2 separate regions of the Homo sapiens genome follow, and region 1 is linked to region 2. Evidence: promoter capture Hi-C in 16 types of primary human blood cells and fetal thymus (Javierre and others, 2016). All regions are on one chromosome and are shown on one strand. Each heading gives the region's core, a stretch centred on a gene start or on the middle of the fragment in contact. The rest is flanking DNA. Distances are from core to core; before and after follow the strand shown.

Region 1 (6,858 bases), core at 1,796-4,295, 52 kb after region 2:
GAGGCTGGGGAGAAGGGTTAGGTGCTTGTTAAGATACTTAAGCTTTATCTTTATTTAGGCCACAGGGAGCCTTAAACCATGGTTTATATGTCAAGGAGGGATTTGTGCCCCAATCCAACTGAAGGCAAGGAGACCAGTTAGGAAGCTGTTGTATGATTCCTATGAGGCAACAACCGTGGGTAAGCAGACAGTGCCTCCCCCAAGGGCCAAAGGCAGGGGCTCCACTTCCACTTCCATGCCCCACCTGCTCCCTGTGTATGTGCACTACACTTGCAAGCAGCCTTTGTAGGGGCGGGGCGAGAGGTTCAGGACAGGTGCTAGAATCTGGTCTAATCCCCAAGAAAATCCTAACTGTGGTTAAGGAAGGCAAGTGTGGCCTTCCCCTGATTGCAACAGGGGACAGATGACCAACTACAGAAAGCCAAGGGCCACTCTTGTCCAAGTTCCAACAGCTTCTGGAAGAACTGTTCTGTCCAATCACCCTGCCTTCCCTGGATGTCAGGTCCATGTGTGTATATCAGCAGACACATCCCTTATCCATAATGGCTTAGGGACCAACTGTGCCCAGCCTCTCCTGCACCAAAAGACACAGCAGCAACATGGCTGGAACCATTAACCCAAAGCCAAGACTCGCAATGAGTCAGAACTTCTACGTGATAAGAGAGACACTGTTGCTCCTATACACATGCCCTGGCTCATCACAGAGCCACACCCCTCCCCACCATGCAAGAACGCAGCACTAAGCTCTCAACAGGACAGATCCGGGGGCAGGTCTGCAGCCAGTGGCAATGTTTGCTGAAACACCCTCTGTATGCTTTTCTGTGCCCACTGAGACAGTAAGAGGAAGGAACTAGGCCGAGTGGGTTGCATGAAACAGTAACAGATCAGCGGCAGCAGAAGCTCTGACGGGGCATTCCTATAGGCCTAAGTGTGGATCCTGGAACAGTGGACAGGCTGGGAGATGATCCCCAGAGAATTACTGGAAACAGCCTGGGATTATACAAATGCTGAGTTTGTGGAGGGCTAATAATATCTACTCAGCCATGAGTTCACAGCAGTTGGGCTCTAGTTTTGCTTTTGTTGTTGTTGTTTTTTTGCAGGGGAGACAGGGTCTCGCCATGTTGCCCAGGCTGGCCTTGAGCTCCTGGACTCCAGCAATCTTCTCACCTCAGCCTCTTGAGAAGCTGGGACTGTTAGCACATGCCACCACACCCAGCTGGGCTCTAGTTGTTAAACATTGTTAACTATTGTTAACCATAGTTAACCATTGTTAACATTGTTAACTATTGTTAACCATAGCAATATGGTAGCTCAGAGCTCTCAACAAAACTTGGATCTGAGATTTAAACTCTTCACCCCAGTGAGTGAGAGAGATGGGCCTTCAAGGGTTAGGGACCAGGCTATGGGAGTGGTTCTTGGTCAACCAAAGACACCACTCTCAAGAGTGAGCATACCCTTGACCCCTGCCACACAGGAACACAGACTGGACTGAGGCTATAAAGTTGCTTTCAGAGAGAACTGAGCTCCTTGAAGAGCCCAACAGGGATTCTGGGTGAAGTGAGCACAGAAGAGACAGTTTTTGTTTGTTTGTTTTTTTGTTTTGTTTGTTTGTTTTTTTAAAATGGAGTCTCACTCTGTCGCCCAGGCTGGAGTGCAGTGGCGCGATCTCGGCTCACTGCAAGCTCCGCCTCCCGGGTTCATATCATTCTCCTGCCTCAGCCTCCCGAGTAGCTGGGACTTTTCAAGTGCCCGCCACCACGCCCGGCTAATTTTTTGTATTTTTAGTAGAGACGGGGTTTCACCATGTTAGCCAGGATGGTCTCGATCTCCTGACCTAGTGATCCGCCCACCTCGGCCTCCCAAAGTACTGGGATTACAGGTGTGAGCCACCACGCCCAGCCAGAGGAGACAATTTTAAACCCAGCTCCAAGGAGCCAGCGCAGGATGCCTGCCTCTCCCAGGGCCCGACACACTGAAAAGTGGAGACGTGGCTTTCCGCAGATATATCAAGACAGTGGTGCTAAGCATGTTCAGGATGTTTAAGATACAAGTTGGAGAAAAATACTTAAGAAAAGCTTCTCTTTCAGAAAGCAATTTGGCCATCTGTATTAAGAACTATAAAAATGTGTAAACCATATCTGAACCCATAATCCCACATCTGAAAATCTAGCCTGGGAAAATGATCCTAAATGTGGAACAAACCAACACAGAATAAACTTCAGACTCCAAGATGTTCATTATGGTATTACTTACACTCACGGAAAATTGGACATTACCTAAGGGACTTCTAAGAGAGAAAAGACAAGTTAATTATGATGGAATTCTACGATCAACTACTATGAAGGTATGGAAAGTGATGATGATGAAGACTATGAAATAACATGGGAAGATGCTGATGATAAAGAATTTAAGGAAAAAGCAGGATACAAAAGTTTATACACACACAGCATGAGCTCAACTGTGGTTTAATTTAAAAGAAGTTAAACTCTCAGACCCTGTATGACGGGCTGGCTTCCAGCAACCTCAGCATTTCCGAGAGAGCCCACAGAGGCCCTGGTCTTGCCTAGGAGACCCCAGGGCCTGAGGATGGCACACTCATGGGATTATTTACATAGCCTCCCCCTGACCAGCAGGGCCCTGGCTCTGGGTTGATTTGAGGACATGTGAACATTACCAGGGTGGTGGTGGCAGCGGTGGTGGCAGCAGCAGTGGCAGCGGTAGTTAGGTCGGCATTCCTCTCTCTCTCTCTCTCTCTAGGAGGCGGAAAGTACAGAAGAGAAGGTAGGTGGAGAATAAGAAGCAGATCAGAGAGGAACTCCTCCTTCCACTTGCTTTGCTACAAACAGGATTAACAAGTAAAGGTAAAAGGCCCCTGCTAGAAGGAAAACAAAAAAGAAGAAAAAGAGAAAAGGGTGGATGCAAGGGAGAGAGGTGAGGAAAAGAGAGGCAAATGTCAAAGCTGCAAGGGAAAAGGGGCCCATTCTGATGACCACTGTTCCAATGCAAAAACAAATTCCTAATAAGCTGTCATTCCTTGTCACAGAGTCATGGGTGAGCAGAAAAAATGGCATTTCCCAGAACAATGTCCATGGAAGCAATTCACCAGCAAATTGAGTCCCCAGAGAACAGAGACACACATAGACTAGGTGGGGCACACAGCAAAGGGGCAACACTCAAACAGTGATGGTGCAGAGACACTCCCTGGCCTTCCCACTCCCATTCCCCACCCCGGCAAGCTCCAAAGGGTCCAAGTGCCCGAAGGAAGGGGAGGCTACAGGACAGGACCAGCCCTACCCCACTCCTCCCAAGCTCCGTTCCCACACACATCAATCTGTGCACTGACAGCTGAGGTAGAAAATGGAAGGCCGGGATGGGGGGATGGTAGAGATGATCAAGATAGAAACCAAACCAATGAGGCCATAAGCCCAGGCAGCTGTCCTCACTAATGGGATAGACCCAGGAGTCTGCTTCTCCCCAGTTGATCTTGACCTTGTGTAGGAACCAGCTGCTTGGACCAGTGACAGAGACAACTGCTGAGGTAGGGTGACAGATACTCTTGCTCACTGAGGGTACAAAGGACTGTCTCCAAATCCATCCTCAACCAGCCTGGAACTATCACCCCATCATCCTAAAACAGTGCACAGAAGAAAAGGAAACAGTAGAAAACTTCAAAGCCAGACAGAGTCCTCAGGGCAGCCCTCCCTCCATTTCTCCACAGCCTTTCAGGCAGGCTCCAGCTCTGCTTCCTGGCCATCGTGTGCTTACCTGTGGAGCCTTCCCTCTGCAGGAACAATCAGAAGACCATTTGCCTTACTCTGGGGGATGGGGGGAGGTGGGAGGTTCAAAATTCAAAGTGAGACCATAAAGGTGCTGAGTCCAAAGGACCCTAAAGGAGTTTTGTGACCATTAACAATCACAAGGCTAAGGTATTAATAGGTTTTCTGCATTTTTCCTGATAAGGGAGGTCACCCCAAGGACTGTCACAGGCAGCCTGTGCTCTGGTCAGCATTGAGCTGGAAGCTTCGGGGAGAGGCCCAAGGGAGGGATCCTGCAAGTTCCCAAGGGTCAGGACCTGGCCCCACTGGGAACGGAGGCTTCACTTCCAAGAGGCACAGATTTAGGCAGAAGACCAGGAGTAGGGAGTCCTGAGACTAGGGATAAACAAAGGGGCAGGAATCCTGGAGAGAAGCCCCGTGCTCCACTCACTGACTGCGTCTGTACTGACTATGTACCAGCTGTGTGGTCAGAGAGAAAGAAGGGAGGCAGACATGAGGGACTCAGAGTCCGGGGGCTGGGGTGAGGCTGGAACTCAGATAATCATCCCTTTCCAGAAAGTTCTGAGCAGCCTGGGAGCAGCAGGGAAGGAGAAGTCAGCTCTATTCCAGGGGCTCCACAGAACTAATGAGGTTGGGGAGGGAAGCTTAAAAGATAGCCAGAGACACACTAGGAACACAGGGGACAGCATAAGCAAAGGCACACAGAGGGGAGAACAGAGGTGTCTGGGTGGAGATGGGGAGTCCAGTGAAGTGGAGAGGAGGAGGAAGTGGCTGGAGGTAGGTCAGGGTCTCGGATGCTAAGCTTGGGCCTTCCGACCATTTAGACCGTTGCCTGTAGGCAGTCGTGAAATGCTAACAGGTTTAAAAGAGGAAGTAACATGGTCAGAACCAGAAAAATCCTGGGCAGCTGAGGGAGAGGAACAGAGGTGCCAGAAGATATGCAATCGGAATTGGAGAGACCAGTTCTGTGTACTGGCTGTGGGGCAAAGGGCTGCCATGGTTGTGACAAACCCACCTGGCCAGCTGTGCCTGCATTCCTTACTCATTTTGTAATTTTTATGATGGGCAATCCCACAAACATTCTGCATTCCTTAATTTAGGGCTAGTGCTACCAGGTGGTGACCTGCCCTCCCTTCACCTTGAGTGAAGTCTCGTTTCCGGGTTTGAGTATTAGGAAATGCAGCATGCATCCCTGTTTGCTATGATGTCTTCTCCTTCTGTTGCTTCTTTTCTTGCTGCCGTTGAAGTTGGAATGCTATATCTTGAAATCCACGTCTCAGAGTACAAGGAGTCAAATAGTATTCTCCCATGCTGGTGAGCTAAGGTCAGGGGTGGGAGGAGAGACCTTAAGGAAAAAGAGCAACTCTTGTTCTTCTATATCTCAACCAGGAAAGCCTCTCCCGGCTCATTCCTTCAATATCCTTATTTTAAGATATAAGTTAGTACAATAATTACAGAGGCATAAGCCAAATGGGAGTGGTTAACAGCTTACTATAGACAGAGTATGAGTCATAACAACTTGTGAAAGTTCACTCCTGTGTGTAAAGCTTGATACGTGGCCCTATTTTGAAGAGGCTTATAGGCCCGGGATGGCCTCTGAGATTCTGCCACCTGGCTCACTCCACTATCCATTACCCTCTGACTCCAAGGAGTTCAAACCAATAGGAGGAAGGGTCCTGATGCGGGCCCTGAGTGGGGGTGCAGCAGGAGGCGGTGGGAGCCATGAAGAATTCACCACCACAGAAGCAGGCAGAGGAAGCAGGCAGAGGAAACAGGCAGGATGAATGGAGAGTGGAGAGGCAGGAGTGGACCCTCCTAGTAACGGCTGGTATTTACTGAAGGTTTACCATGAGAAGGATGCCTCATAACCCTCCCCACCAAGGAGGAAACTGAGGCCTGCAGAGCTTAAGTAACCTGCCTGAGGTCACTGACTGTAAAGTGGCAGTGCCAGGACTGAACCCAGGCAGTCTGAGCACACAGCACACTCTCAGCCCTGGATACCAGACTGTGAGCAACACTGGGGGCACCCTGGCCATGAGGAGTGTCACTGATGCCCTGAGAAGGCACTAAACCTGGAGTCAGACGCTGGGGTTTGAGCCGCAGCCCTACTGTTGTCTATGTGACTTTCGGAGCCTGTCCCTCTCTGAGCCTGTTTCCTCACCTGTGACATGGAGCAGAAGTTTCTACATTGTCTGGCCTCAGGGGTCTAGGCAAATCCTAGCAGTGACTGAATGGGAAGCCAAGGAAGTGGAAATGGGACATGGCCCCTACTTCAAGTAGAATGAAACCCTTGTGACCTGCTGTAAGCGGAAGGTTGTGTAGCATTTCAATGGGGCAGAAAGAAATCTGATACTGAAAAGCCTGTTTGGGAACCCTTGGACTAAATGTCTCAGAAGCCACTCCATTTTGAGCATTACTTCTGTCTAATCTTAAATGGTATGTGTGTGTGTGTACATGTGTGTGCATGTGTATGTGTGTGTGGGAATGAAAAGTCAAAATGACAGCAGGGTGTCTGGGCCAGGGATAAGCTGAGAGGCTATAAAGAGGGCTAACAGCCCATAAGGTTTATTTGCTCAACAAACAGTGCAGAAAGGTCAAAACCAGGTGCTACAAAATCCCTTTCTTCTTCTAGAATATAACCATAAAACAGATAACACAGGCAGTTCCTAATTTGTAGACAGGATGTGCTCCAAATGTTTCTCCTTCCACCTCTTTTTTTTCAGGGTTCAGGTTTCCCATTACCATTTTATTATTTATTAGGTAATATTCTTTACTGGAAAGGTATGGCAGAGTTTAAGCATTTCTCAACTTAGTTATCTGGACTCTGACCATATTTTCCCAAAATGATCAATTAGGGTGAGATTGGAGCAGATGATAAGAGAGTAGCTGGGGAAGTGGGAGAAAAAGCAGAAAAGATTCTCCTAAGGTGGAAAGTTAACCCTTGGAGAAGGAAAGGATGAAGAGAAAAAAAAGTATGAGGAAAAGCAAAGAAAAAAAAAAGATGATATTGACAAGATAAGAAAAAAGGAGGTATATATGTTTGAAAAACCAAAACTAAAATATTCCTGATGCTAAGTTGTGA
Region 2 (7,017 bases), core at 1,724-4,223:
AATGCTGTCCACAGTATTCAGAGACACAGTAGTCTCCTCCTGCAAGGTGGCTAACGCCCGATGTAAACTGTTCTCCTTCAAGTACTGCATAATAAGGCGGATCACACTGAAAGAAAACAAATCGTTCAGCTCAGGGATTCTCACTCACCAGAGGTCAAAAATAAAGCCTATCAAGCTCCTACTCAATCATCTTCCTTTCACTACTATTTCTTTATCATGTGAGTAAAATTTTCCAAAATCACAGAATCTAAATTATAAGGGGACCCCCCCTAACCATAGAGACAGAACTGGGGTTCAAGGAAAGGAAATCATTTGCCTAATGTCTCAGTCAGCTAGAAAGGGAGTTGGTGTCAAGGTGACTATCTTATTTCCTAATCCAGAGCCTAGTTTCCTATTCATTCTTGTAATTATATTGTAGCACACTTCACTGAAATACTTTAAATGACTAGACTAGTTATTTATACAAAATAATCTAAATGAGGTTGGGCATGCTGGCTCATGACTGTAATCTCAGTAATTTGGGAGGCTGAGGCAGGAGGATTGGCTGGAAACCAGGAGGTTTGAGACCAGATCAGGCAGCTGTGAGACCCCATCTCTACAAATTTTTTTTTAAATTAGCCAAACATGGTGGCATGTGCCTGTAGTCCCAGCTACTTGGGATGTTGATGTGGGAGGATCCCTTGAGCCCATGAGTTCAAGACCAGCATGGGCAACATAAGAAGACCCCTTCTCTACACACACACACACACAAAAAAAAAAATTAGCTAGGCATGATAGTGTGTGCTTGTGGTCCCAGCTACCTGGGAAGCTGGGGTGGGAGGATTGCTTGTATCCATAAGGTTGAGGCTGCAGTGAGCCGTGATCATGCCACTGCACTCTAGCCTGGGAAAGAGAGCAAGACCTTGTCTCAAAAAAATAAATAAAATAAAACCTATGAGGTAAGTTTACTTTTATCCCCAATTTACAGATGAGGATTTGATCAGATAATAGAGATAATAAGTGGAAAAATCAGGACTCAAACTGGCAGTGTGGCTCTAGAGCATGTATTCCTGAGGAGAAAGCAAACATCCTCTTTTTTTTTTTTTTTTTTGAGAAATGGTCACTTGCATCGCTCAGGCTGGACAGAATAGTGGCGTGATTGTGGCTGACTGCAGCCTGGGCCTCCTGGGATCAGGTGATCCTCTCACCTCAGCCTCCCGAGTAGCTGAGACCACAGGCATGCACCACCACACTGGCTAATTGTTGTATTTTTTGTAGAGACGTGGTTTTGCCATGTTGACCATGCTGGTCTCAAACTTCTGGGCTCAAGTGATCCATCCACCTCAGCTTCCCAAAGTGTTGAGATGACAGGTGTGAGCCACCGCACCTGGCCCCTCTTCTTAAAAACAACTATAGGCCGGCCGCGGTGGCTCACGCCTGTAATCTCACCACTTTGGAAGGCCGAGGCGGGCAGATCACAAGGTCAGGAGATCGAGACCATCCTGGCTAACACGGTGAAACCCCGTCTCTACTAAAAATACAAAAAAATTAGCCGGGCATGGTGGTGGGCGCCTGTAGTCCCAGCTACTCGGGAGGCTGAGGCAGGAGAATGGCGTGAACGTGGGAGGCGGTGCTTGCAGTGAGCGGAGATCGCGCCACTGCATTCCAGCCTGGGTGACAGAGTGAGACTCCGTCTCAAAAAAAAAAAAGGGAACTGATTGCTGCTACCTGCAGTAGTCTTTTTCTCTCATGGCCCCTTTATGAGGTATGCAGGTATCCAGACTTAGACCCCTGTTATTCTGCTATGATACTATCTTCCTTAGCACATGTCCGTTGACTTCCATTTTACACTCCCAAAATAAGTCATCTCTCTCCTCAAACAGCTCACATTTGACATAGCCAAAATCAAATTCCCTACCTTCAAACAGAAATGAATACATAAAGAGCTAGAAGCTTTGAAGATAGTCTGGGATTTGAATCAAAGTTATGTGACCTTGGACAAGTAGGTTAACATCATTTCAGTATTTGCTGAATGCATAAACCTCCCTTCCTCCTATGAAAAGTCTCCAAAAAAGGTCCTCTCCCTCCCTTACACTCAGACACAATTTTTATGTCTGTTAATTTAATTATTATTAAGTGTTGGCAAGGACAGGTGGAGGATGGAGTTCTGGAAAAGCACACTAAGGTCTTCTTTAGTCACTAATTCTCATCCCCTATTCCTTGAAAATTTTTCTTTCTAGCCCAGTCTCCAGTCTGTCTCTCCCCAGACAACCCAAAATTCCGTGCCAGATCGGGCCTGATAGTTGTTCATTCATTCCAAAAGCTAGTTGTTCATTCATTCCAAAAGCAATTAACTCTTCCTCTAAGGTATGCTAGACACTGAGACCACAAGGAAAAGGAGCTCCTAGGCACCGACAAAGGCTAGTTTGGGGTGAGGTTATCAAACAGTGACAATACTGAGTGATAAACGCTAGGCAGAGAAAAGCAAAGGGGCCGTATAAGCAGAGACAACGAATCACATTGCATAAGCTGGACAGGGAGAGAAGCAAGGCTTAAAGAGACCTATCCCCTTGCGCAGATAATTAGACTGGAGTCCAGAGTGGATCCTTAATTTGGTCAATCACAGCGCGCCAGCAGTCGGCCAAGGACAGAACTTAGGTCTGCAAGGTGTGTTTTCCCCACCCGTGCCACCTCCCTCGAGGTTTTGGGCTTCACGTCTGAGAGCTGCTACTTTCCTGTGGGCCCACCTCCGAGGTAGCGAGATCCAAGATGCTTCTTTGGGGGCAAGGAAATGGCCCTCCACTCCCTGGCCTCTCGGATGCCTTCTCCCGAGTACCCTCCGCCCCACACCCTTAACCTCCAGGCCCCCGGCAAGGCGCGAACATCCCCACCGCAGGACTCACTCCGAAGATTCGATTTCGATCGACATAGCCGTATCTCTCCGGGAGCAGGCCCCAGCTCTCCCTCAAGGCCAGTCGCGCAACACACCAACGACACCTCCGGCGGACACCTAACGTCACTTCCGCTTGGGTCGGCGTCTGGCTCCCGCTCTGGAGATAGAGTGAACGAAGAGTAGGGGCGAGGTTCGCGTAGGGGCGGAGCCCTCAGGGGCTGTCAGAGGGCGGAGTTTATGCCCCTGCCCCAGAGAAATACGCATCAGGAGGAAGACTGTTTAAAAGCAGGCCGGAGCCGGGTGCGGTGGCTCACGCTTGTAATCCCAACACTTTGGAAGGCCGAGGCGGGCGATCACCTGAGGTCGTGAGTTCGAGACCAGCCTGACCAACATGGAGAAACCCCCGTCTCTACTAAAAATACAAAATTAGCCGGGCGTAGTGGCGCATGCCTGTAATCCCTACTCGGGAGCCTGAGGCAGGAGAATCGCTTGAACCCAGGAGGCGGAGGTTGCGGTGAGCCGAGATCGCGCCATTGCACCCCAGCATGGAAAACAAGAGCGCAACTCCGTCTCAAAAAAAAAAAAAAAAAAAAAAGAAAGATAGAAAAGAAAAAGAAAAAAAGCACCGGGCGCCATACAGCTCACAAATGTACTGAAAAAGAAAAGCGCTGGGGCGGAGCGCGGTGGCTCGCGCCTGTACTCCCAGCGCGCGAGTTCGAGACCAGCCTGGGCAACATGGTGAAGCCCCGTCTCTACTAAAAATACAAAAAATTAGCCGGGCGTGGTGGCGGGGGCGCCTGTAATCTCAGCTACTCGGGAGTCTGTGGCAGGAGAATCGTTTCACCTCTGGAGGTGGATGCGGTGAGCCGAGATCACACCATTGCACTCCAGCCTGGGCAAGGAGAGCAAAATTCCGTCTCAAAAGAAGAAAAGAAAAGTAGTGGTGATAAGATTGTAGTAAGAAAAGCAAAGAAAAGAAAGAAGAAAAGAAAGAAAAGAAAAGAAAGAAAAGAAAGAGCACTGGTTTGGAAAGATTGCTTTTTTTTTGAGACGGAATCTCGCACTGTCGCCCGGGCTGAAGAGCACAATGGCGCGATCTCGGCTCACTGCAAACTCTGCCTCCCGGGTTCAGGAGATTCTCTTGCCTCAGCCTCCGGAGTAGCTGGGATTACAGGTTTCTTGCCATCACGCCAGGCTAATTTTTTGTATTTTTAGTAGAGATGGGATTTCACTATGTTGGTCAGGCTGTTCTCGAACTCCTGACCTCGTGATCCGCCCGCCTCGGTCTCCCAAAGTGCTGGGATTACAGGCGTGAGTCACTGCGCCCAGCCAATGTTGCTTTCGTTTGATGTAATTAGTTGATTAGATTTAAGATGAGGCTGAATATGCAATACCTGATGGGATATTAATACATTCAAAACCAACATAACACTAGCCAAAATTTATAGGAAGAGTTAATTGAGGATTTTGGTTGGTTGGTTGGTTTTGCGTTTTTTTGAATCAAGGACTCGCTTTGTTGCCCATGCTGGAGTGCAGTGTCTCGATCGTGGCACACTGCAGCCTCGACCCCTCCAGCTCAAGCAATCCTCCCACCTCAGCCACCCAAAGTGCTGGGATTACTGGCATGAGCCACCACGCCCTGTCACGGGACTTTAGGTCAAACACATTATTACATTTGTAGTGACAAATGAAATGTAGAGATATCAGTGAACTTCATACATAAAACCTATTTTTAAATATTTTATTGCTGTTGTATATAAATTGTAAAAATTATTTGCAGCACAGTAATAATAAATCTGGCCAGGCGTGGTGGCTCACGCCTGTAATCTCAGCACTTTGGGAGGCTGAGGCGGGTGGATCACCTGAGTTCAGGAGTTGGAGACCAGCCTGGCCAACATGGTGAAACCCCGTCTCTACTAAAAATAAGAAAATTTGCCAGGCAGATAGGTGTGCATCTGTAATCCCAGCTACTCGGGAGACTGAGGCAGGAGAATCCCTTGAACCCGGGAGGCAGAGGTTGCAGTGAGGAGAGATCGAACCACTGCACTCCACCCTGGGTGACCGAGTGACCAAAAAATAATAAATAAATAAATAAATAAAATAAATCTGTGTTCCGAAATTACATATTGAAATGATGTATTTGTAGATTTCCTGATGGCTTTCAGTCTTATCTGATTCTGTGCCTAAAGGTCTGCCATACAACTTGTCCATAACCTCTTAAATACTGCTTCTTTTGTCAAATCATCCTCTATTTCCTATCAATTCTTGAAGGACATGGTCTCCAAGGTTTCAAATGTTTTAGAGTCTCCATGCTTGCCTTGACATGTAGTGAGATATCAACATGGGTTATATGGTTTATGAGATACTCCTTCACTATTCTATCCCATAACAGCACAAAATTATTATAACTTCTTCCTTGAAAAGAAGACCCAGCTCATCGCAACAATAGCATATGTCCTCATTTTCTCTACCTAGTACTTGTCATGTTACTCTTAAATTCAGGTTACTTCTCTATTTTGTTTATACAAATAAATCTTCTCTATGATTACTTAACACCAGGTTTTATTCTAATATCCACCACACCTCTGCTTTCATTTTGAATGGAATGGCTTCTCTTCTTATGACTCCTATTACATCCAAGCTTGTTCATTATTTATAGATGTGAGCATCTTATTGCTTCATTATGTCTTTTGTAGTAACACCCTAGGATTTTGATATTGAACTACATATTACTCTATTTTATAACAAATTAATTTATTTTTATTTTTCCTATATATTTAGCATTATATTGATTTTTTCATTATCTGCGTAAGTAGATTTTTCTTTCTTTTTTAAGACAGAGTCTCACTCTGTTGCCTAGGCTGGAGTGCAGTGGCACCATCTCAGCTCACTGCAACCTCTGCCTCCTGGGTTCCAGTGATTCTTCTGCCTCAGCTTCCCAAGTAGCTGTGATTACAGGCACGCACCACCATGCCCAGCAAATTTTTGTATTTTTAGTAGAGACGGGTTTCGCCATGTTGGCCAGGCTGGTCTCGAACACCTGACCTCAAGTGATCCGCCCGCCTTGGCCTCCCAATGTGTAAGTAGATTATATTACTTATGAATTTCAGAACACTAAAAGGGATGTTACAAGAGATTTGGAGGTCCTTGAGCCTAATAGTATTGAGAACATGTTAAAGAGATGCCTATTAGTCATTGCTCCAAAATAATAACTCCAATCCCTTAATACTTTTCTTACTCTCCTTTTTTAACCTTGGAAAGATCTTTTAGAAAATAATATATTTTGTGATAAAGAAACATTTACATAAGTTCAACAATTCTTTTGGTTTCACTTCAGTTTCCTTTTATTCAGTCAATTACAGGTACAATTAAATTGATTAATTTTTCTCTAAAAAATAGCACATATTGATTGGCCAGGTGTGGTGGCTCACACCTATAATCCCTGTACTTTGGGAAGCCAAGGTGGGAAAATTGCTTGAGACCAGGAGCTCAAGACAAGGCTGGACAACATAGCAAGAGACCCCTTCTTCACAGAAAAATTAGCCTGGCATGGTGGCACACGCCCGTAGTTCCAGCAACTTGGGAGGCTGAGGCGGGAGGATTGGCTTGAGCCCAGGAGTTTGAGGCTGCAGTGAGCCATGATCGCACCACTGCGCTCCAGCCTGGGAGACAAAGTGAGACCCTGTCTCTAAAGAAAATAATAATAATAATAAAATTAAAATAGGCTAGGCATGGTGGCTCACGCCTGTAATCCCAGCACTTTGGGAGGCCAAGGTGGGTGGATCATCTGAGGTCAGGAGTTCGAGACCAGCCTGGCCAACATAGTGAAACCCCCCCATCTCTACCAAAAATACAAAAATTAGCTGGGCATGGTGGCACATGCCTGTAATCCCAGCTACTCAGGAGGCTAAGGGAAGAGATTCGCTTGAGCCCGGAAGGCGGAGGTTGGCCTGAGACGAGATTGCACCATTGCACTTTAGCCTGGGTGACACAGTGAGACTCCGTCTCAAAAAATAAAAATAAAAATAAAAAAGAAAGAAAGAAAACGTGGGGCAGTGGAGGGTGGGGAGTGTAAACTATACTCTGTCTGCATCACATGCTGCTTGACATAATCCCTGGTGCCAAGTAGCCTGTTTCAAGTCAGA

What was found. Contacts are between HindIII fragments. The CHiCAGO score rates a contact against its expected background, and 5 or more counts as called.
Region 1: a contact is called between a fragment that was not itself captured here and the fragment with the promoter of SMU1 in region 2, in 5 of 17 cell types (total B cells, naive B cells, monocytes and 2 more). The highest score is 10.8, in total B cells.

What each region holds. Positions count from the first base shown.
Region 1 is chr9:33,125,362-33,132,219 of GRCh38, forward strand. All of the region lies in intron 2 of B4GALT1 (beta-1,4-galactosyltransferase 1), which reads right to left. It overlaps LOC124902141 (a long non-coding RNA gene), which reads right to left. Exons shown (of 2, transcript XR_007061455.1): 1 at 4,915-6,858; 2 at 2,450-3,628. Among named protein-coding and RNA genes, the nearest start is that of MIR12117, 20 kb to the left of the region's middle. The HindIII fragment of the contact is 1,945 bases long and covers 2,074-4,018 here.
Region 2 is chr9:33,073,701-33,080,717 of GRCh38, forward strand. SMU1 (SMU1 DNA replication regulator and spliceosomal factor) reads right to left here and starts at 2,974. Exons shown (of 12, transcript NM_018225.3): 1 at 2,883-2,974; 2 at 1-106. The coding sequence starts at 2,908. RefSeq lists enhancers at 2,836-2,985, 3,156-3,355. The HindIII fragment of the contact is 3,581 bases long and covers 1,931-5,511 here.